Linked DNA regions of Homo sapiens: all the other regions are linked to region 7. Evidence: promoter capture Hi-C in 16 types of primary human blood cells and fetal thymus (Javierre and others, 2016). All regions are on one chromosome and are shown on one strand. The core of a region is centred on a gene start or on the middle of the fragment in contact, and the rest is flanking DNA. Distances in the headings are between cores, read along the strand shown.

Evidence for each region. Contacts are between HindIII fragments. The CHiCAGO score rates a contact against its expected background, and 5 or more counts as called.
Region 1: a fragment that was not itself captured here is called in contact with the fragment with the promoter of PSMD6-AS1 in region 7 in 7 of 17 cell types (activated CD4 T cells, megakaryocytes, naive B cells and 4 more); the score reaches 9.7 in activated CD4 T cells.
Region 2: a fragment that was not itself captured here is called in contact with the fragment with the promoter of PSMD6-AS1 in region 7 in 2 of 17 cell types (megakaryocytes and endothelial precursors); the score reaches 10.4 in megakaryocytes.
Region 3: a fragment that was not itself captured here is called in contact with the fragment with the promoter of PSMD6-AS1 in region 7 in 13 of 17 cell types (megakaryocytes, endothelial precursors, naive B cells and 10 more); the score reaches 13.8 in megakaryocytes.
Region 4: a fragment that was not itself captured here is called in contact with the fragment with the promoter of PSMD6-AS1 in region 7 in 1 of 17 cell types (megakaryocytes); the score reaches 6.4 in megakaryocytes.
Region 5: a contact is called between a fragment that was not itself captured here and the fragment with the promoter of PSMD6-AS1 in region 7, in 1 of 17 cell types (megakaryocytes). The highest score is 6.0, in megakaryocytes.
Region 6: a contact is called between a fragment that was not itself captured here and the fragment with the promoter of PSMD6-AS1 in region 7, in 3 of 17 cell types (megakaryocytes, endothelial precursors and naive B cells). The highest score is 12.0, in megakaryocytes.

What each region holds. Positions count from the first base shown.
Region 1 is chr3:64,495,478-64,498,177 of GRCh38, forward strand. No RefSeq gene overlaps it. Among named protein-coding and RNA genes, the nearest start is that of PRICKLE2-DT, 52 kb to the left of the region's middle. The HindIII fragment of the contact is 2,738 bases long and covers 32-2,700 here.
Region 2 is chr3:64,453,815-64,456,514 of GRCh38, forward strand. PRICKLE2-DT (PRICKLE2 divergent transcript) reads left to right here. Exons shown (of 4, transcript NR_183714.1): 4 at 923-2,256. LOC105377123 (a long non-coding RNA gene) reads right to left here. Exons shown (of 8, transcript XR_940913.3): 8 at 1-951. Among named protein-coding and RNA genes, the nearest start is that of PRICKLE2-DT, 9.9 kb to the left of the region's middle. The HindIII fragment of the contact is 518 bases long and covers 1,027-1,544 here.
Region 3 is chr3:64,472,325-64,475,206 of GRCh38, forward strand. The region is part of intron 3 of LOC105377123 (a long non-coding RNA gene); the gene reads right to left. Among named protein-coding and RNA genes, the nearest start is that of PRICKLE2-DT, 29 kb to the left of the region's middle. The HindIII fragment of the contact is 1,485 bases long and covers 724-2,208 here.
Region 4 is chr3:64,373,207-64,375,906 of GRCh38, forward strand. No RefSeq gene overlaps it. Among named protein-coding and RNA genes, the nearest start is that of PRICKLE2-DT, 71 kb to the right of the region's middle. The HindIII fragment of the contact is 823 bases long and covers 953-1,775 here.
Region 5 is chr3:64,430,806-64,433,505 of GRCh38, forward strand. No RefSeq gene overlaps it. Among named protein-coding and RNA genes, the nearest start is that of PRICKLE2-DT, 13 kb to the right of the region's middle. The HindIII fragment of the contact is 9,934 bases long and covers 1-2,700 here.
Region 6 is chr3:64,404,094-64,406,956 of GRCh38, forward strand. No RefSeq gene overlaps it. Among named protein-coding and RNA genes, the nearest start is that of PRICKLE2-DT, 40 kb to the right of the region's middle. The HindIII fragment of the contact is 1,419 bases long and covers 731-2,149 here.
Region 7 is chr3:64,010,691-64,013,520 of GRCh38, forward strand. It overlaps PSMD6-AS1 (PSMD6 antisense RNA 1), which reads left to right and starts at 1,274. Exons shown (of 2, transcript NR_189168.1): 1 at 1,274-1,352. It overlaps PSMD6 (proteasome 26S subunit, non-ATPase 6), which reads right to left. Exons shown (of 8, transcript NM_014814.3): 6 at 2,749-2,830; 7 at 188-265; 8 at 1-74. It overlaps PSMD6-AS2 (PSMD6 antisense RNA 2), which reads left to right. Exons shown (of 3, transcript NR_038286.1): 3 at 1,107-1,553. The HindIII fragment of the contact is 1,623 bases long and covers 378-2,000 here.

The DNA.
Region 1 (2,700 bases), core at 151-2,650, 480 kb after region 7:
CCTAGTACAAACATTCACCTTAGTGATGAGAAGCTTGAGTCTCAGAGGTTGAAAGCAATGTGCCCTGTATCACCGGGCTCAGGTCATTGCTAAGAGTATACCCAGGTCTCCTGTTTGCTAGGCCACACTAGAAAAAGAAAAGAAAATGAAACCTCACTTCCTTACCAGGTAAGAACTGTACATGAAACCCGTGTTTCTGATTACTTGGTCTTTATACAAGGGGTACTTTTCCAGGGTACTGGTTGGTGAGTCTGTGTCCAATCAAATTATAATCAATTACAAAACAATATTGGTTATAATTAATAGTTTTTTTGATACAACATATTTGAGAGTATCTCTCTCAGACAAAATACAGAGCCTGGGTTGCCAAAGCCCAGGCAAAGACAAGTTTTATCTTTCTTCTGTTCTTTAATAGGATCAAGGCCTCTGAGACTACCATATTTTAAGCAAACCTAAGACCGGCACATGTAGATTTGCAGAATATAAAAGTGAGTGCTTCCCAGAAAGGGCTGACCAGAAGATTCCAAGAATATTTCCCTTGCATATTTAAATGAGAATCAATTTTAAAAATCCATTTATATCCATTTTGAACTCTGTGTCACAGAAGTCAGCATTTAATTATGTGCACGTGTGATATCCCAGTGGGTATAATTGGGGAGTTGATGCTGAATTGCACAGAACAGGGTATGCTGCAGTTGGGCAGACCCAGGTTTAAATCTTGGCTGTACCACCTACTAATCATCACCCTGTACAAGTCACTTCACTTCTCTGAACCACAGCATATGCATCCATAAATGAGAACACTAATAGCTACCTTCCAGAGTTGGGGGGATTAAATAATATGAGAATACCCTACTATTTTTAATACATTTTATTAGTGGAATGGGATCAGAAAGACTCAGCATACTTAGGTGAGCTGAGCCTTTTTGATCCCATTCACCCAATAAAACTGTGAGGTCTTTGTAAGGCCTTTGCCTATTATCTTCATCTTGGTGTCTGCAATGCCAAATATGAGGTCCTATATAAAGTATGTACTCAATAAATGTTTATTGAATTAACAGAGGACTGTGGGAATGGGTTACGTCTTTCCTTTATCTGGCACTAACCAGCAGTAGTGGCTTGAATAGTCCCTGCTCCACCCCCAAATACATCCACATCCTAACCCCTAGAACCTGTGAATGTGACCCTTATTTGGAAAAAGGGTCTTTGTAGATGTAATTAATGTAAGGATCTCCTGGATTATCTGGGTAGGACCCAAATCCAGTGGGTCCTCATGAGAGACACAGGCAAAGACACAGACACAGAGGAGAAAGAAGGCCATGCAAAGATGGAGGCAGAGATTGGAGTGATGTACCCACAGGAACACCTGGAGCCACCAGAGTCTGGAAGAGCAAAAGGAGAGATTCCCCTTTAAGGCCTCCAGAGGCAGCATGGCCCTGCACAGTTGGTCTGACTTCTGCTCCATCTTCTGGCCTCCACCACTGTGAGAGAATACATTTCTGTTGTTTTAAGCCACCCGGTTTGTGGTCATTTTTTGCGGCAGCCGTAGTAAATGAATACACCAGCACGTAGGAGGCATTCATGCTTAACACTGGAACTTAATGCTTAAACACTGGAAGTGTCAAGTGAAGGGATTTGGACTCATGTTTTGATATCAAATCCTTAAACTCTACTGTACACCCAAAGCATGTTATCCAAGCTGGCTCGACTATGATCTAGAAATTTGGGGTACAGTACATTAACCTTGGAAATTCCATTGTAAAAGGAGCCAGAAATTCTGCTAAGCCACTCAGATGACACTACTTATTTTCCTGGAAGAATACACCAGGTACTTCCACTAGCCTGACCCAGACCAGCCACCCATGGCAGAGAGTGCTAATAGATAGTAACTGCTTCTTGCTGAGCATCAGAGATGCCATGTAAACATCCTGATAGAGGCACCAAAGAGCAGATGGAAATTCTATCTAGAGCTCAGGGTGGATCAGAGTCAGCCCACAGCTTGGCTCCCACCTCCAGCCTGAGTTCCAGGTGCTTGTGTCCAGCTGCTCCTTGACTCTCCCCCCGGATGTCTCCCACCTGGCATGTGTAACAAATGGGGTCGGGGGATCAGGGGTCCGACTGAACCCCTGATCCCCCGACCCCATTTGTTACTTCGCCAGTGTCTTCCATCTCAGAAACAAGTCACTCTGTTCTTCCAGTTACACTGTTCTCTTGGATTCCTCTATTGGTCTCACATTCCTCAGCCAAACATGGTGGTACTGCCTTAAGAAGACATCTAGAATATAGTCACTTGGCACAATTTCCACTGGCACTGCAGATCACTGTGACTTCTGGACCTCCCCCCTCCCTTTTTTTTTTTTTTTCACAGAGTCTCGCTCTGTCACTCAGGCTGAAGTGCACTGGTGTCATCTCGGCTCACTGCAACCTCCACCTCCCTGGTTCAAGCGATTTTCATGCCTCAGCCTCCCGAGTAGCTGAGATTATAGGCATGTGCCACCACACCTGGCTAATTTTTGTATTTTTAGTAGAGATGAGGTTTACCATGTTGGCCAGGCTGGTCACGAACTCCTGGCCTCAGGTTATCCACCCGCCTTGGCCTCCCAAAGTGCTGGGATTACAGGTGTGAGCACCCGGCTGCGGCTTACGTGGCTTGCGACCGTAAGCCGCACCCGGCTGGGACTGGTCTATTTTAAGAGCTTT
Region 2 (2,700 bases), core at 36-2,535, 440 kb after region 7:
AAAAAAAAAAGTGGTGTTCTCATCACCACTGAGAACTCCCCCAAGAGAACACAGTCTGTTTGGCCTCTTGGTAGGACCCTTCTGGATATGTAGTTCATTTCCTCTTCAGCAGAAAATTTGGTCTCTTGAGTATTAAAACGTATGCTTTTCTTTTGTGTTCTCTTTTTGCAAGCCAAAAATCATCCAACCAGACAACCCTTTCTCTGTCATGTATGGGACATGTACAATTTTTAAATAGTTGTTAAAAAAAAAATTGGAACTTCAGTTTAAATGGACTAAAACTTCCTACGTAGCGTGCAACTGGGGTCAGTATGGCCAAGATGTTAAGTGCCCGTGAAGTCACCTCTTTTGTCTTTTAAAAGGATAATCAATGCCATAGACTAGGTTGAAAACTAGATCCAAGCAGAGGCCCCTCACATTCCTTGGGCATGTAAAATGGACAAGTAGTAGACTGAATTGTCATTTCTTCATAAAAGTGGTTGCCAGGATTTGGGTCTGTATGAGTCAGAGCAGCCTAGCTACTCCAACGAACAGCAAGTCTCACAGGCCTATCAAAAGAGCTGTTTCCTGCTTTTGCTCACATCATAATCTGATGCAAGTGAGGCAGGGGAGGGGGCGAGAGGAGGGGAAGAGTGAGTGGGAAGGTAGTGCTCTGCTCCGCCCAGACATTCAGGCTGATAATTCTTCTGAGGGCTGCATCTGCCATCTTCCAGAACTGCAATGTCCAATATGGCAGTGATGTCATATGTGACCATTTATATTTAAATGAATCAAAAGTAAAAATTCACTTTCTCTGTTGCATTAGCCATATTTCCAGTTCTCAAAAGCCACATGTGACTAGATTCTACTATACTAGATGCACAGAATAGAAGATTTCCATAATTCCAGAAAATTCTATTTGACCACTTCCTCTAAATTTCAGAGTGCTCCACCGGATTGTCTGAATCCGACCTGCAGACAAGAAAAGAGAAGGTAAAGAGTCAGTGAGGACTGGTGGACGTATTTTCCCCAGATTTCATTGGCACAAGCTTGAGACATGGCCTCCTTTACTGCAAGAGAACCGGAAAGCATCATCTAGCTTTGCGCCTAAGAAGAGGAGAAGCACGGACATGCATGAGCCCTTGGGCATCCCTGTCCCAGTGGCCTTATCAGAATTGCAATACTATCTCACACTGCATTCCTTGTATTCCTAGGAGAACTGGCCAGGCTTCTAAAGAACATAACCTTACTTTGGATTAGGCCTCAGAGATGTTAACTCTTGCTGTCGGTAAGGGTTGACTCAGATGCAGAAACTCAGACAATAGTTAACCACTTCACTTGAAAGAGAAAGCCTCATATGACATTCATCTCATCAATGGCAAAGTGTATGAAAAAGTGATTCTGTTTTTATATTCTAAATCAGGAGTTGGCAAATTTTTCTGTACAGGTTCGGATAGGAGCTATTTAAGGCTTTGTGGATCATACAGTCTTTATCACAACAACTCAACTCCACAATTGTAGTACAAAAGTGCCATAGATGAAGGAGAGTGACAGTGTTTCAATAAAGCTTTGTTTACAAAAGCAGGCAGTAGGTCCAGTTTGGTCTAGCATAGTTTGCTGGCTCCTGCTCTAAGTCTTCACCAGGTCCTCTTCACTTCCTAGCAGACTCACCTTTCTCTTCTTCCTGTCCCCTCCAAAAAAGAATGGTAAAAAGAAGAATGGAAATGTTGGTATATGTAGAGAGCCAACATTTTGCAGTGCTAAGCACTTTACTCAAGTTAATTTAATTCTCACAACACCTTGAGTAAGATTTTTATGGTTGCCCATTTACAGATGAGGAAGCTGACACACAGAGAAATTAAGTCATCAGGTTTAGCTCATGAAGAGACTAAAATTCTAAGTGTGATGGCATAATTCACTATAAGTCACTGGTGCATGAAGCAGTATTGTTTAATATCCCCCAACATGGTAATCAGGGAAGAACTTAGCCATAGACATTATCAGAGGGAGGGAACTAGAGTAGGGCATGGGGAAAAAAAATACATACCTGAGTTGGTAGTTGATGGGATTTGTTTGTGAACACCTATGACACATGTTAGGGGTGGGGAGATGGCAAGAAGAATGAGGAGCAAATGTGTAAACCATGTAGGGGTCTGTGGTCTTGCAATGGCAGATGGGGAAGTCATTATTGTGATGAACACAAGGCTTATTAATGTGCAACAGTGCCCAATTTTAACCCTTTCCTGTCATTTTCAATAAAGGGAATTTTGTCTTTGATATCTGCTTCTCCTTTCCCCAGTTTCTGGCTTAAAAAAATGCAAAATCAGGATGTTGGGCAAAAAGAAACAGGCCCAGGTAGAACGGAAGAAAGGAGGAAAGATTTTTGTTAGACATTTCATGGGCTCTCCTTTGTTGTGAAAAGTCTGGGTAATGGGCAAGGCAGAGAGAGGGATGAAGGCAGTCAGACAGGCAAAATCAACCTAAATACTGTATTGCTGAGAGAGAACAGAGGTCAAAGACAGAGAGCTTGAAAAGGCAAGTGGGCTGCTCTTGGAGATGTTTGGGTTTGGGGTGGTGAATGAGAAGCTTTGGTATAATTGAGAAAATCAAGAAAGAAAGAGAAAAGGATTTTGAGAAATGCTACCATGGGTTATCAGTTGGGCCCCTTATAACGTTCTCTGGGTATTGCAGGTAAAGTTTCCATTGTAATTATTTTCGCTT
Region 3 (2,882 bases), core at 216-2,715, 460 kb after region 7:
CAATCTGAAGGTGACGATAGAGCAGAGTCTGACCTCCTTCTCCTGTTGCTGCTTATTTAAATAGAGAGGACCCAGGCCTGCTACGTTTGCAAATGCTCCATTTCCCCTCTGGAACCCATTTTTTGATGTGTTAAATAGATACTCTCTAAGATCTTTCCAGCACACAAATTCTATGAATATGGTTTAGAGGGATTTTCCCCTAATTTTCTCCTAATGACCAACAAATTATAAAATAGAAATGAAAATAAAGTATCCCCAACCACATATTAAGTTATTATCAATTATTTATCATACAAAGACAATGGGCTTAAGTCAACTCCCTACTCCCAAGGGAAGAATGAGATGCAATCAACCATTGGGTTTTGCAGTTTGGTCTTTGGTGTTCTTCAAGATCAGGGGTCCAGGAAAAACTACCATGGACTGTAAGAAACCAAGGGAAAAAGTGCGCACACAGTAATGCTACTCACTTGCTATGTGGACATGTATATAGATTTAGGAAAATGCAAAATAAAAGTTCTATAAAGATACACCCCAAACTTGTAACCTTCAGTAAAGAAGATCATGATTAGAAATAGTGGTCCAAGGGCACTTTAGCTTCATCTGTGATACATTAAGTTTTAAAAAAGAGAATGTATTTATCTCTTGCTTAGGTAATTAAAATTTAATTGTTAAATGGAGAACCTTGTTTAGGGAATGGTTGCCCAGGGAACTGCAAGAAAAAGAAGCTTAGCTGGTTGATTTCCCTGAGGACAGGTCAGTGTTCTGACCCCCGCTATGTTGTCCCAGAACTTAAGAGGTGAGTTTTCCAACTTAATTATTAATTGAACTGAGAAAAGTGACTTTCTGGAGACTGAGGGCTAATTTTGACGTTGATGTCAACATGTAGAAGCCTTTTTATAAAAAAAAGCATCTGGTTGTGTTTTCCTAACTATTGTTAAAGCAAAATTAGGTGGGAAGACAAATGTGTATAAATTGCTATTTTGGGGGACTCTTGAGAAAATAAAAATATGAAATAAACGGAGCATCAAGAAAATTAGTTCAGCTGTGGATGTAACTGCATCCTTAACTCTTTCTCTGTGAGTTGCACACACAAACACACACACACACACACACACACACACCTCCTTCCTAATCCCTTTCCTACAATTCTCAGGAGTTTAGAAGTGAAAAATCATATAATCAACACTTTTTTGAATGATTAATGGAACAGACATGTAATGGAGAATTTATAGGCACAGATCTTCCTAAATCTTCAAGCTAACCTTTGGTCTCAAATACTTCCTCTATAATCTTGATCAACTCCACTGTAAAACCACAAATACTTCCATAGTCTCCACATGCAAAGCATTCTGTACTTTTCTTTCCCCTGTTAGAACTGGTGTCAAATTCTCCCTCCTGCTATGCCCATCACCTCCATAAGAAAAAAATTCCTCTTCATGCTTTTCTCTATGGCATTCTGAATATCTAGTACTTCGTAGGAGATACTAAAAATAATAAGACAATTTAAAGCTCCTTTTCTTTTTCTTTACCAGTAACTGTGGGGGTCGGGGGAAGCAAACTAAAGTATAAGAATTAGGTTAAGAATTTGCTCTCTGATTGTACTGGGCCCATGGAAATTAAGGATGCCTTTAAAATCCAGGGTTCAAAAGGTCAATTCAGGACCATGAGAAGTATTGCAGGAAGAAGCCATCCACCAGCTACAGGCACAAGAAAGAGAATCTTTGGAAATTTAGATTATGATATCAGAGATTAGGGAGTAGCCTGACACACAGAAATAATCATTCCACAAATGTTGAGGAACCTCAGACTGTGCAGACACAATTCTTTTTTTTTTTTTTTTTTTTTTTTTGAGACAGCGTCTCACTCCGTTGCCCAGGCTGGAGTGCCGTGGTGCAATCTCGGCTCACTGCAACCTCCACCTCCCAGGTTCAAGTGATTCTCCTGCCTCCGCCTCGAGAGTAGTTGGGATTACAGGCCCCCACCACCATGCCAGTCTAATTTTTGTATTTTTAGTAGAGATGGGGTTTTGCCATGTTGGCCAGGCTGGTCTCAAACTCTTGGCCTCAAGCGATCTGCCTTCCTCAGCCTGCCAAAGTGCTGAGATTACATGTGTGAGCCACCATTCCAGGCCCAAACACCATCTTAAGATCTTGTTTAATCTTCATGACAATGCAATCATTGTCCCCATTTGCCAGATGAGAAAACTTAAGCTTAAGGGGGTGAGGTTGCATAACAAGCTGAGAATTTAACTCAAGCAGACTAATGCTAGTGCTCTCATTCATCACTACCCAGCAAGAAGGGAGGTAGGGAGGGAAGGAGGGAAGAAGAAAAAGAGAGAAGGAAAGAAAAAGAACAGATGGATGTTTGGTTCAAAGAGAGTGAAATTGAGAAATTCAGTTTTAAGAACAGCAAATACCTTGAATCCAAGTGATGTCTGGAAGGGGAGGTAAATCTTAGTCATGAGGTTCACAGAGCAACCAGGAATAGAAATACAGCAAAACCAGAATGCATCCATATGCCAAAGGAAAGTATGTCAATCAGGGACCCAATAGAAACAGCTGTCACACTTGAGTTAGGAGAAATGGAGGAAGATTTATTTAGAAAGGGGACATTTAGAGAGGTGCATGTGCAGGAGAACATGAAGGCAAGCGAAGTAACCTTGCAAGGGCTCACCATCTTCAGGTCTAAGGGACGAGGGAAGGAAGCTGTTAGCAGAACCTTAGGGAGTTGTGGAGCTTGAGAGGAACAGAGACCTTAGTCTGGGGACACACAGGCTGGCTGAGACCTTGGAAGGAAGGGCACCCATCTTTTCTTCTCCCTCCTTGCAATCTCCTGCGGGGGTTCTGCATTAGCTGAACCCAGCTAAGTGCCAAAGAGCAAGG
Region 4 (2,700 bases), core at 114-2,613, 360 kb after region 7:
TCAGCGGTAATAAAATTATTCTAAAATTGTAGTGACAGTTGCACAACTGTGTGAATATACTAAAAAAAATTGAATTATATAATTTAAATTGGTAAACTGTACGACATGAATTACATCTCAACAAAGTGGTTAAAAATACAATGAAAACTTAAAACATGCCATTGCCAAATATATATATATCATCCCAGTAAATTCGCTGTGACTTAATAGTAATTGCCGTGCTGCACACAGTGGCTCACACATGTAATCCCAGCACTGTGGGAGACCAAAGTGGAAGGATCACTTGAGGCCAGGAGTTCTAGACCTCATCTCTACAAGAAATAAAAAATAAAGAATACTAATTACTATAATTTGAATATGCACCCCAAAAATATGCACTGGAAACTTAATCCTCAATGCGATACTGTTGGGGTATAGGGCCTAATGAGAGGTGATTAGGCCATGATAGTGAAGTGAATAATTAATGCCAATATTGTAGGAGTGGGTTCATTATAAAAGGGGGAGTTTGGCCCCCTTTATCTCTTTCTTTCTCTGTCTCTCTCCTTTAGTACTCTCCTGCCATTCCACCCTCCATCATGGAATAACAAAGAAAGAAGGCCTTTGCCAGGCACTGCTTACTTGATCTTGAACTTCTCAGCTCCAGAAATGGGAGCCAATAAATTTCTGCTCATTATATATTACCCAGCTTCTGTTATTCTGTTACTGAAGCAAAAAACATAATAAGACAGAAATGCCTCATCAATTAATTATCTAAAATACCTTGCACACAACAAATGCCAAGGATTATATATTTAATAGTTGGGCAAACATTATGTTAGGCCTGCCAGGGTTGGAGCTCTGAATGAGAAGTTCAAATGAGTTATAAACCCAAGATTCTATACAATCAGCTTCTCAGAAAAATTGAAGTGCTTAGCTTTGTTCTCAGAAGTCTAGGGCATAATTTATCTTTCTAAGCTTCAGTTTCCTCATCTGTAAAAGGAAACTATAACTCTTAGAGTTATTTTTTATCATATAAGCTCCCATTTTGTTAATTCTTTCCACCAAGACTTATGATGGAAGGCCATAATATGAGCCAGACACTGTTCTAAACCAAAATTATACAAAGATGAATAATTCAGAGAGGTCCCGTCCTTACAAAGTTTTATTCTAGAAGGGACACATTTTCTGCTAGATCTAATATATTATTAAACTTTACAATATGATGGCTGAGTGTTAAGTGCTGTGAAGAAATTATTAATGGGGTAAATGAGATAGATAGAAGGTGAGGGATGAGGGAGGGCAGGCTGCTATTTAATAGAGGGTGATCAGGGAAGTCCTCTTTGAGGAAGTCTAATTTGAGGAAAGCCTAAATGAAACAAGGGAACACACCATGCTAAGATGTGAACGGCAGGAGCCACAACTGGAAGATGTGGTGTACTCAAGGATCATATCTGACAACAGCAGAACACACAATGGGGAGAGTGGAAGGCCATGAGGCTGGTAAAATGGGAATTTGGGGACTAAAGACCATGGTCATAAGGTCTTAGATTTTATTGTCAGCTTGAAGGGAAGCCATTCAGAAGGTTCTGAGTAGAAGGGGGATATATAATTTTAGAACATCACACTGCCTGTGGTGTGAATGGATTATAAGAGGCCAGACTGGAAGCAGGGAGGCCAGGGAGAAGGTCACTATCAGAAAGAAAGTAAAAGAGGGAGGTAGTTGGACCTATGGTGATAGCAAAGGACATGTCCACACAGGTAAGATAGAGCTGGGTTTTGAAAGCAGAGCTGATCCAAGCTTGCTGAGAGTCTTACGGAATGTGTGAGAAAAAGGAACAATCCAGGAAGGAACAATCTTGGGTTTCTGCCCAAAGCAGAAGGACTAGACATCAGATATAACTGCTTAGAGCAAGGTCTGGAACTGAGAAAGTACTCAAAAAATATTAACCACCATCCTGCCACTATCACTATTACCAATATCATTATAACTACCATTATTATTATAACTTCCTCCATCCCACCTCCACCCTCATTACAGCTACCACCATCATGACAATCACTATCATCACCACCACCATCAAAAGCAAAAAGACAGCATAGTACTGGAAGTCCTAGCCAGAACAATCAGGGAAGAGAAAGAAATAGAAGACTTCCAAACAGGAAAAGAAGAAGTGAAATTGTCTCTTTCTGCTGATGACATGATCTTATATATAGAAAGTCTAAAGACACCACCAAAAAACTATTAGAACTGATAAAAGAACTCAGTAAAGTTACAGGATACAAAATCAACTTACAAAAATTAGTAACATCTCTATACACTAATAACAGACTATCTGAAAAATAAATTAAGAAAATTCTATTTATAATAGCATCAAACAAAACTTAGGAGTACATTTAACTAAGGAGGTGAAAGGTCTGTATACTGAAAACTATTAAACCTCAATGGAAAAAATTAAAGATGACACAAATAAATAGGAGTATATCGTGTGTTCATAAATTGGAAGAATATTGTTAAGACGTACATACTACCCAAAGCAATCTACAGATTCAATGTAATCTGTGCCAAAAATGTCAATGTCATTCTTCACAGAAATAGAAAAAACAATCCTAAAATTCATATAGAACCACAAAAGATCCTGAATAGTCAAAGGCATCTTGTACCAAAAGAAAAAAGCTGGAGGCATCATATTACCAAATTTCAAAGTATATTACAAAGCTATA
Region 5 (2,700 bases), core at 135-2,634, 420 kb after region 7:
ACTTCTAGCCTCCACAAAAACAGACTAGAAGGAAATCACAGACTAGTGCTAAGTGTACTGGTGATTGGCTTATAAAGTTGTGCTTGTTTTTTGCGTAAATCGCTGGACTTTGCTGCATTTTCCAAATTGTCTAAACTGCATATTTATCATCCAACAATTTGATCAAAATTATTTTAGAATAAGAAGTACACCTGCCTTAAAAATGTTTTTATCAAGGAGATACAGAGGACTACTAGAGGGTAGAGAAGAAAAAGGAGGGCAAAGGCTGAAAAACTACCTATTGGATACTATGCCCACTACCTGGATGATGGGATCATTTGTACCCCAAACCTCAGCATCATGCAATATAACCATGTAACAACTCTGCACATGTACCCCTTGAATCTAAAAGAAAAGTTGAATTTTTTGGGGGGAAAAAAAAAAACAAACTTCTAAATAAAGACCCAAAACACTTCAAATATTAAACATTGAAATAAGATGGAAGCTATGCATACATTTAAGAAAGGTTAATTAAAAACCAAGATAATTAAAGAAAGATAAGTATTTACCCAGTTTGTGGTAAGTCAGTTGAGTGATGGTGGTCATAATGATGATGGGTTAAACCAAGGAATAAATGTTTGCAAATCAAAGGTTGTAAGGAGCATCTCCTACCAACTCAAAGCTCAAAAACAATTTAAAAATACATGGAAGACTTACAGGAAAAAAAAAGCTGTTACACCAAAATTTTACCAAAAAAAAAAAGAAAGTTCCATCTCCCAGAACCCAGGAAAACATATGTAATGTGTCCTTCTCTGTGGCTACAAACATGCCAAACCCAAAAATGAACAACGCTTTCCTCAATTATCTATTGTCTCCAAACTTTTGGCTTCATAAAGATGAGAGGAGCTTGTCATTGTGTTTCCAAACAACTCAATATGTTGCTGGAGGAGTTCCAAAGGCCGAGTCACCAAGGATGCAAATAACAGGGAGTACCCCTGGGTGCCTGACTGTGGAACAAAAGACTTTAGGAAATTATATTATCGGGGTAATTTCATAGTGTTGTTGAAGAAAGCAAACACCTGCATTCTTTTAATAAGTCCCCTGGAGGCCTAATTCCTCAGCACTCAAAGTAGGAGAACCCACTCTGGGTGTTATAGGTACATATAATGAGCCGGTTTTTAAGAATTGCGAAAGCTGTTTCTGCATCACCAAGTAGTTTACCAAACACAAAAATCAAATAATGTGCTCATTAAACGCCTTCCAACAGTCAAATGTGCTTGTGTCTGTTTTGCCAATGTGACACCAAAGGTCGCTACATATATTCAAAAGCCTAGGTCCAAAGGCTGGATAACGACCATCTTGTTTATTTTTATGCTTGTTGATGTATAGTTGGCTGCTGAAAGGAGGTACCGTACATTCCCTCCCTTGACTGATCCCTTTTGTAGAGTTTTCCTCTAGAAACATTATGCAAATGGCATTTTTAAAGCTGCCCTCCCCACACACAAACTCTCCCAGACAGCCCAAATTACACCCAAGTTTTTAACAAGCTGAATGGAGCCTCATTTAATGTAGTCAGATCTGATTAGAAAACTGCAAGTGGCCTCCTATGGAACTGGAAGTCACGTTGCATTCGATTCCATTTTTCTCAAGGTGGCACATTTCAGACACCTCGGTAAGCTCAACCCCACAACCTCTAATCTGAAGGAGTTTCCCTTTTAAGACTCTTGCCCCAAATAAACCAACTAGTCCAGGGTTCTTCAGACATTTTGTTCTGTTTTAGACACTAGTCAGATCTCATCCCCAGGTCATAGAGAATATAAAACTGTTTTCCCCAAGGTACAGGTTTATATTTAGACCAGAAGAATCAAATGCCAGAGCTCAACACACTCTGGGTTCAAGAGCTTGTAATCTGGAGCCTCAAAGACCTGACTTCAAATCCTGATTCCATTACTTATTTACCAATGTGAATGAATGCATGCTACCTAACCTCCCTGAGTCCCCATACTTAAAAAGTGGAAGATAAAAGACACGCCTCAGGAAACTGTTTTGAGTATGAAATGAAGTGATTCCTGAAAGAAATCAAGCACACAGCAGGCCCTCAATAATGTCTGCTCCTCCTTTACTGTATCTCCCAGAAAGGGAGGGCTTAGCTGCTGAGACGACTTGCTTAGCACAGCTGCCCCTGCCAGGTAGTGACTTTATGCCACCCCACCATTCATTTCATCCTTCCAGTCATGTACACTCACTCACTGGTTTCTTTCAAATCAGTAGTCACAAAATCTGATGTCTGCAGTGGCCGATGAGTAATGTAAATGAGCAAGGCAGGCCAGGTGTAAGACAATAGGGAATGGTGGAAACTGTAAAAAAGTTGAACACGTCTCATCTTAAAGGAAAAGAAGAAATATTAGGCTACTTTTGCCAGATAGTGTCATCTTTCCAGAGAAAGCCCAAATCTGAATTTTTACACAATATCTTAAATGTTGGCCACTAATTTAAAATTTAAAGCCTGTGCAATGCTAACAAAATACACCTATAGGCCAGATCTAATCTCAGGAGTTTCCAGAGTGTGATCTCAGGTTCAAATTTTATATAAATATCCATGTCTCTCATGCTTCAGAAGAGGGAGCTTCTACTTAGGGACTTGTGACCATGTAAATGGAAATGTTTAATGTGGCACAACGGGAGTCAAAAAAACTCATACTTATTAAGCAGGCTAGAGGG
Region 6 (2,863 bases), core at 190-2,689, 390 kb after region 7:
ATCAGATATCTTAAGCACAAAATCAATTTTTATGGAAAAAAAAAAAAACTCCTAAAGGAGAAAGGTCTCACACGGTGCCCTCATCTGCTCAACCCTCTCACCACCACCTGCCAGTCTCTATGGGTTAGGGCTTAGTTTGAGAGAAATGTAGGTAACCAAAATCTTATGCAATTAAAACATTTATCAGTTCTGAACTGCCCATTATAAAATAGAAGTTTTATATTTATAACTAGTAAAATAATTTTTAAAATATTAATATTTTAAAATAATTTCTTAAATTTTTAGAAGACTTATACACTTAGTTTGAAAAATACCACATTAGACCCAGATTCTGGTCTCAGCTATGCCACCAAATATGTTTCCTTAGGAAAAGTCACTTACTCTCCCTATAAATCAATTTTCTTTATTGGATATACCAGGTACTTCCCAAGAGTATTCCGATATCTAAGATTCTATATAAGTCAAAGAAATAAAGGTAGTTTTCTCTGAAATTATTTAAGTAAAATCTTTTGTTTATTACGAGTTGAGCAATAGGGTCTGGGAAGAAAGGAGGTCTTAAATCTAGAAATTTCTCAATGCACTCTTGGAAGATGATGCATACTAAAAAAAAATTTAATGAGCCAAAATATAGTCTAAAGGTAACAGAGGCAATTGTTATTTAAAGACTAGGGACTTTCATACCAGGAATAACATGTTCGTGAAGGCTGACTTTGGTAAAGTGAGTTTTCTAAGCTTGAGGCACCAGTATCTCAGGCAGTGACAGCCAACTTTAGACGCCTCAAGGAGGCCACAGCATGCTAGCCAGGTGAGCTAACAGAGTCACTCTGGAGACTGCTATGAGAGAAGGAGTGCATTCAGGCTAACTAGCTTAACTGCAAGCAAGCAAGAGACTAAAGAAACTATCAGTACCATCCTGTCTCTTGATTTGACTATATCCCATGTGCTTCCTGGAAAACTAAAGCTGTGGAAGATACATCAACATGCTCACCCCCCAGATGGTTCACTTAGACAGACTCAATTGTCGTCTCTTAAGATCAACCTTATAAAAGTTTAACAAGAAATGTGAACTGACATTTATGGAGCATATGTGGGGCACACTGCATAGGTCATCTTATTTAATTTTTACAAGTGTACTCTAATCAGGCACATGGGTGTCAATGGGAAAGCTCTGGAAGGCCAGGCCAAGCTCTTGAGCCAGAATGAATCTCTTAAATGCCAGCATCATGATTCTGACTGATTGCCAGGTCCTCCATCCCTTGTTTGAAAACATAAACCCAAACATACAACAATAAAGATAAGCACAACCCAACAATAGTTACTTCTTTTTATACAGTGAGTTCCGGAGACAAAAAGATGCTGCACTGTTAGGATAAGGATGTTGCATAAAGAAAATTCCCCTAGTTTTCTATAATACACAGAGATCTTGGAGAGGTTTCCCTGCTATCTGGTGACCCAGGAAAGTGCTGAATACAAAGCTGCTGGCAGCTGGTTTAACTTATGCAATGCATTTCTTGACATGGTTCTCAAACATTGTGGAAATGAGAATGCATGTAACAGACTTGCCTGAACTTCATATTTCCCTTCTCAGTTTTCCTCCTGAGCCTCTCCCAGTGGCCTGGCTAAATTCCAGAAGCAAACAGTATCCTCATATGTTCCCATCTCTTTATTAACTTCTATAGCAATTACTTCAGATTCCTTGTCATGCCCTCATTTCATTAAAATCTGTCCATCAAGAGAAACACTGAGTAGCCCGCTTTTGCCCTGTACCCATCAGAGGTTTTTGCACTGGACCAGAAATTAAGCTCACAAATTGTGATGATTTTTACAACAGAAACTCTCCAAAGGGGAATTATGTGTTTCTGGAAGAATTCTGAGCATCTCTCTGACCTGACTACGAGACGGCTCACTACCAAGCGCATGTGAGAGCAGAATGGAAGGGAAACTGATGAAAACCACTTTTAAGTGTCTCCGAAAAAAAAAAACAACAAAAAAAACCTTTGATCTTTGTATGTCTGAAAGATGATGTACTTGGTCCTATCTTGTGACCTGGGAAGAAACAAACAGCAGGAAAAGAAACCTGAGATCTCATCTTCTAAATCAACATTCCACTTGGTTCCTCTATTTTATGAAAAAATGAAGGTATCCTAGAAGCTTCTCTTTTCTTTTCCTCCCCAAATATGCCAGCCTTTGATTCTCAAGCTATGATAAGATGGATGTGGAAGTGAAAAGAAGACTCTCATATACACATATTTGGACAAAAAGAAGAAGACCAAAAATGCCAGCCCTCATTTCTAGTCAACCAATAGAGAGGGGAAAGGAGCAGAGTGGAATATAGGAACGGAAGCTATTTTGAAGGTTTCCCATGGTTACAGCTGCTATGGAAATCATTTTCTTCTCTGGGGTTTTCAAAGATATCCAAGCCCAGCTTCAATCACGGTTTAAAGAAGGAGAACAAAGGTAGAACACGGACAGAAATTGCTTCTTTTATTTAAAGTTTTAAAAGGTTCCAAATTAGGATGGTTGGAGGTTGGGTACAGGCACTAATGGTAGTGGTAACCTCAAAAGACTCCATATCAGAGTTGCCCAGCAGGGGACAAAATCAATCTCTCATGGTCTGGAGAGAAACCTGCACTTTCTGGACCTAGACAGGGAAAGATGGATCTTTTTAAAGCACAAATCGAATCATGTCACTCCCCTGTGTAAAAGCGTTCAACAGCTTCCCGCTGTTCTTAGGATAAAATCCTTAATATCCATGACGGTCTGGTCCGGGCATCCTGTTCCACCTCATCTCTTTCTCTGCCTTGTTTCCTGCATGGCAGCCGCCCTGGTTTTCAGCCCATCAAATGTGGTAAGAGGCTTCCTG
Region 7 (2,830 bases), core at 24-2,523:
GTTTTTGAACTCTGTTTAGTAGCAGATCTCCTTTCTTGATAGTTTCTTGGTACTGCCAGTTCTTGCTATCAGGTCTATAAATAAATTCAAGAAAAAATGAATTATTTACCAGTCACATTATTCCATGACAATAGTTGACCTACTTTTAAAATTTAGGAATGCCCCTTATTCTGAGAAATGAGAGTACCTGTTGGTTTCTACTATTTCATTCACTTTATCTATTTTGCAGTGTAGTCTCCCGGCAGCAATAAACCTGGACAGTTCCCTAATTTAGAGACAAAAAATAACAGAATTAGCTTTATAGAAAATTCTTAGAAAAATGCAAACGGCATTAAAATACTGTCTTAAATTTGTAACAAACATTTAGCTTCCCTTCAAGCTTGTTATTGCACATGCAGTAGTTGACGTTGTCCCTCCTATACTGCAGGCTTTAAGTCATCATCTACTAGAATAAACATGATCCTAGAAGTTCATATTCAGATAGATAGAAAGTAGATCAAACAATGAAACCATATGTACTCAGAGAAAAACTGTAGGTTAGGAAAAATTAGGGACCAAAACTGATAAAAACAGTAAACTGTTTCAAACAAAAGACCTAAAACAAAATTATGGAACACAGCCCATCAGTAAACATGTCAACAGCAATAGTATTAACATGTCAACAGCAATAGTATTTACTAAAACAACGACCCTTTCCCTCTCTAACATATCTTAGTCTAAACAAGTGGAAGGGAAGGGGAGAAATGATGTAGAATTATTGCTTTGCCCATTTTAAAAAAGGGGATTTCATCTAAAATGTAACTTTTTAAGGGAGAAAAAAAGAATAAAGAATCCATGACAACCCAGATTTGAAATTCTTAGGTATCACAGAAATTTAAAACAAGGCCTTTTTAGGTAACAACAACTAGAGCTCAGTGGTACAACCTTTGCCTCTCAAGCTGGTCTTAGAACATGAAGGGAAAAAAAAAAAACTGAACAAATACTACCTGAATTCAACTACTACCTGAAAGGTACCAGCTGCCTTGCATTCACTTGTCATCAAGATGACTTAAGGAATACTGCGGTGTGTGCCCCTAACTAATGAAGGCTTTATCTCCACATTACAGTTACGATACTGAAGAGACGTAACCTGACCAAGGCCACAGAGCTGGAAAAAGAAGCAAAGCCAAGCCGTTTTTCTCATGCACTGCTCACAACAAGCCCCTCCTTCCACTGACTCATGAAAAACACACTCATAATGCCCAGCCCGCACCCTAATGAACAGCCCTCTTAAGAGTGGTCATCAGACTTCAATTTCACAGACTAGAATTGAGAAATGGAACAAAACCTTGGGATACCAGCCTTCCATTTTGGTAGGGATCATTTAAAAAATGGTAGGGATCATTTAAAAAATGTGTTGGTGTCTGAAACTTACTTTGAAGTGGTTAAAAAACATAAAATGTATAGATTGTAACAAGCAAATATGTTAAAATGTACTGTACAATTCTTTCTTTACAATTTTATGGATGTTCGAAATTTAAAAAATACTAGAAAGAGAATGGTCTTATTTAAAAGAAATGCATCTTCATTTAAAGTTTCCACTGCAGACCATTGAAAACACCATCATCAACATTTAAAAACACCTACATGTGGGAGCCACTGATCTAGATGCCATCTGGACATCCCATATTGAGTATGTCTCCTACCCAACTCTACTCTCACCACCCTCGTCCACGCCACGGTAACATCTCCTCTAAGAGCTACTAAACAGCACAACTGGTCCTCTCTGCCACCTTACTCTATTTCTTATATAAAGACACTGCATAGGACCATGTAACTTGGGCTCTAAATCTTCCAATGGCTCCCTATCAAACTTACTTAAAACTCAAGCTCCATCCCATGACCTACAAGGCCCTACACAAATCATTACCTACCTAACTCTCCATATATTATCCTCAAAATCTCCTACCACTCCAACTATGCTGGAGCCACCCTGACATTTTCTGTTCCTACAACATCCAAGCTTATTCCTGGCTCAAAGCCTTAGCCTTTTCTATTCCCTTTTCTGCACGCAGAAGGACTCCATATGGCTGACTCCTCTCAATTCAAATCTCAGAGCAAACCTCACCTCCTTAAGCATGCCGTACGTAAGGATAGCATTTTCTCATCTCCATAGGTTCATTTCTATATGTGAAATTACGTTTTATATTTATTTGCTTCCTTGCCATCTCTTCCCTACTACTACAATGAAAGTGTGAAAAGGGAGCTGTAAAACAATACCAAACATATAGTAATGAATGGCTCATTAAGTATTTATTTGTTTAATCACTGATGCAAGTACTAAAAGTCCCACATTTAACAACCAATCTGACCAGAATTGCAGCAGCAACCTAAAAACTGGAAGGAATTATCAGAGGGAATATGACCAACTGTAAATATCAGATCTAAGAGTCATTACCGTAGCTGCAGTGTGGTCTACAAAGAAGTAACAGAAGACAACTTTTGATAACAACTGGTCTAATGACCTTTAACAAATCACTTAGCCTCACTACAACTCATCTTCCCATCTGTTAATGCAAGGGGCAGACATGACATGAGGAAGGCAGAGGCAACAGGATACGAATGTTTTGATAATACTGAGGAAAAAAACCTCTCCCCTCCCCGTTAAGATTGAGGGAACCAATGTAAACAAGTAAAAAATTGTACAAGTTCACATATTTTAAAAGGCAACTTTAAAACTTCAATTAACATGGCATTATTCAAACTTACTGATCAATGAATTCCACACCAACACCAAACGCTTCTGCCATATAGCCAAGGGTTAATGACCTATATGATTCCAGCAGCTGAC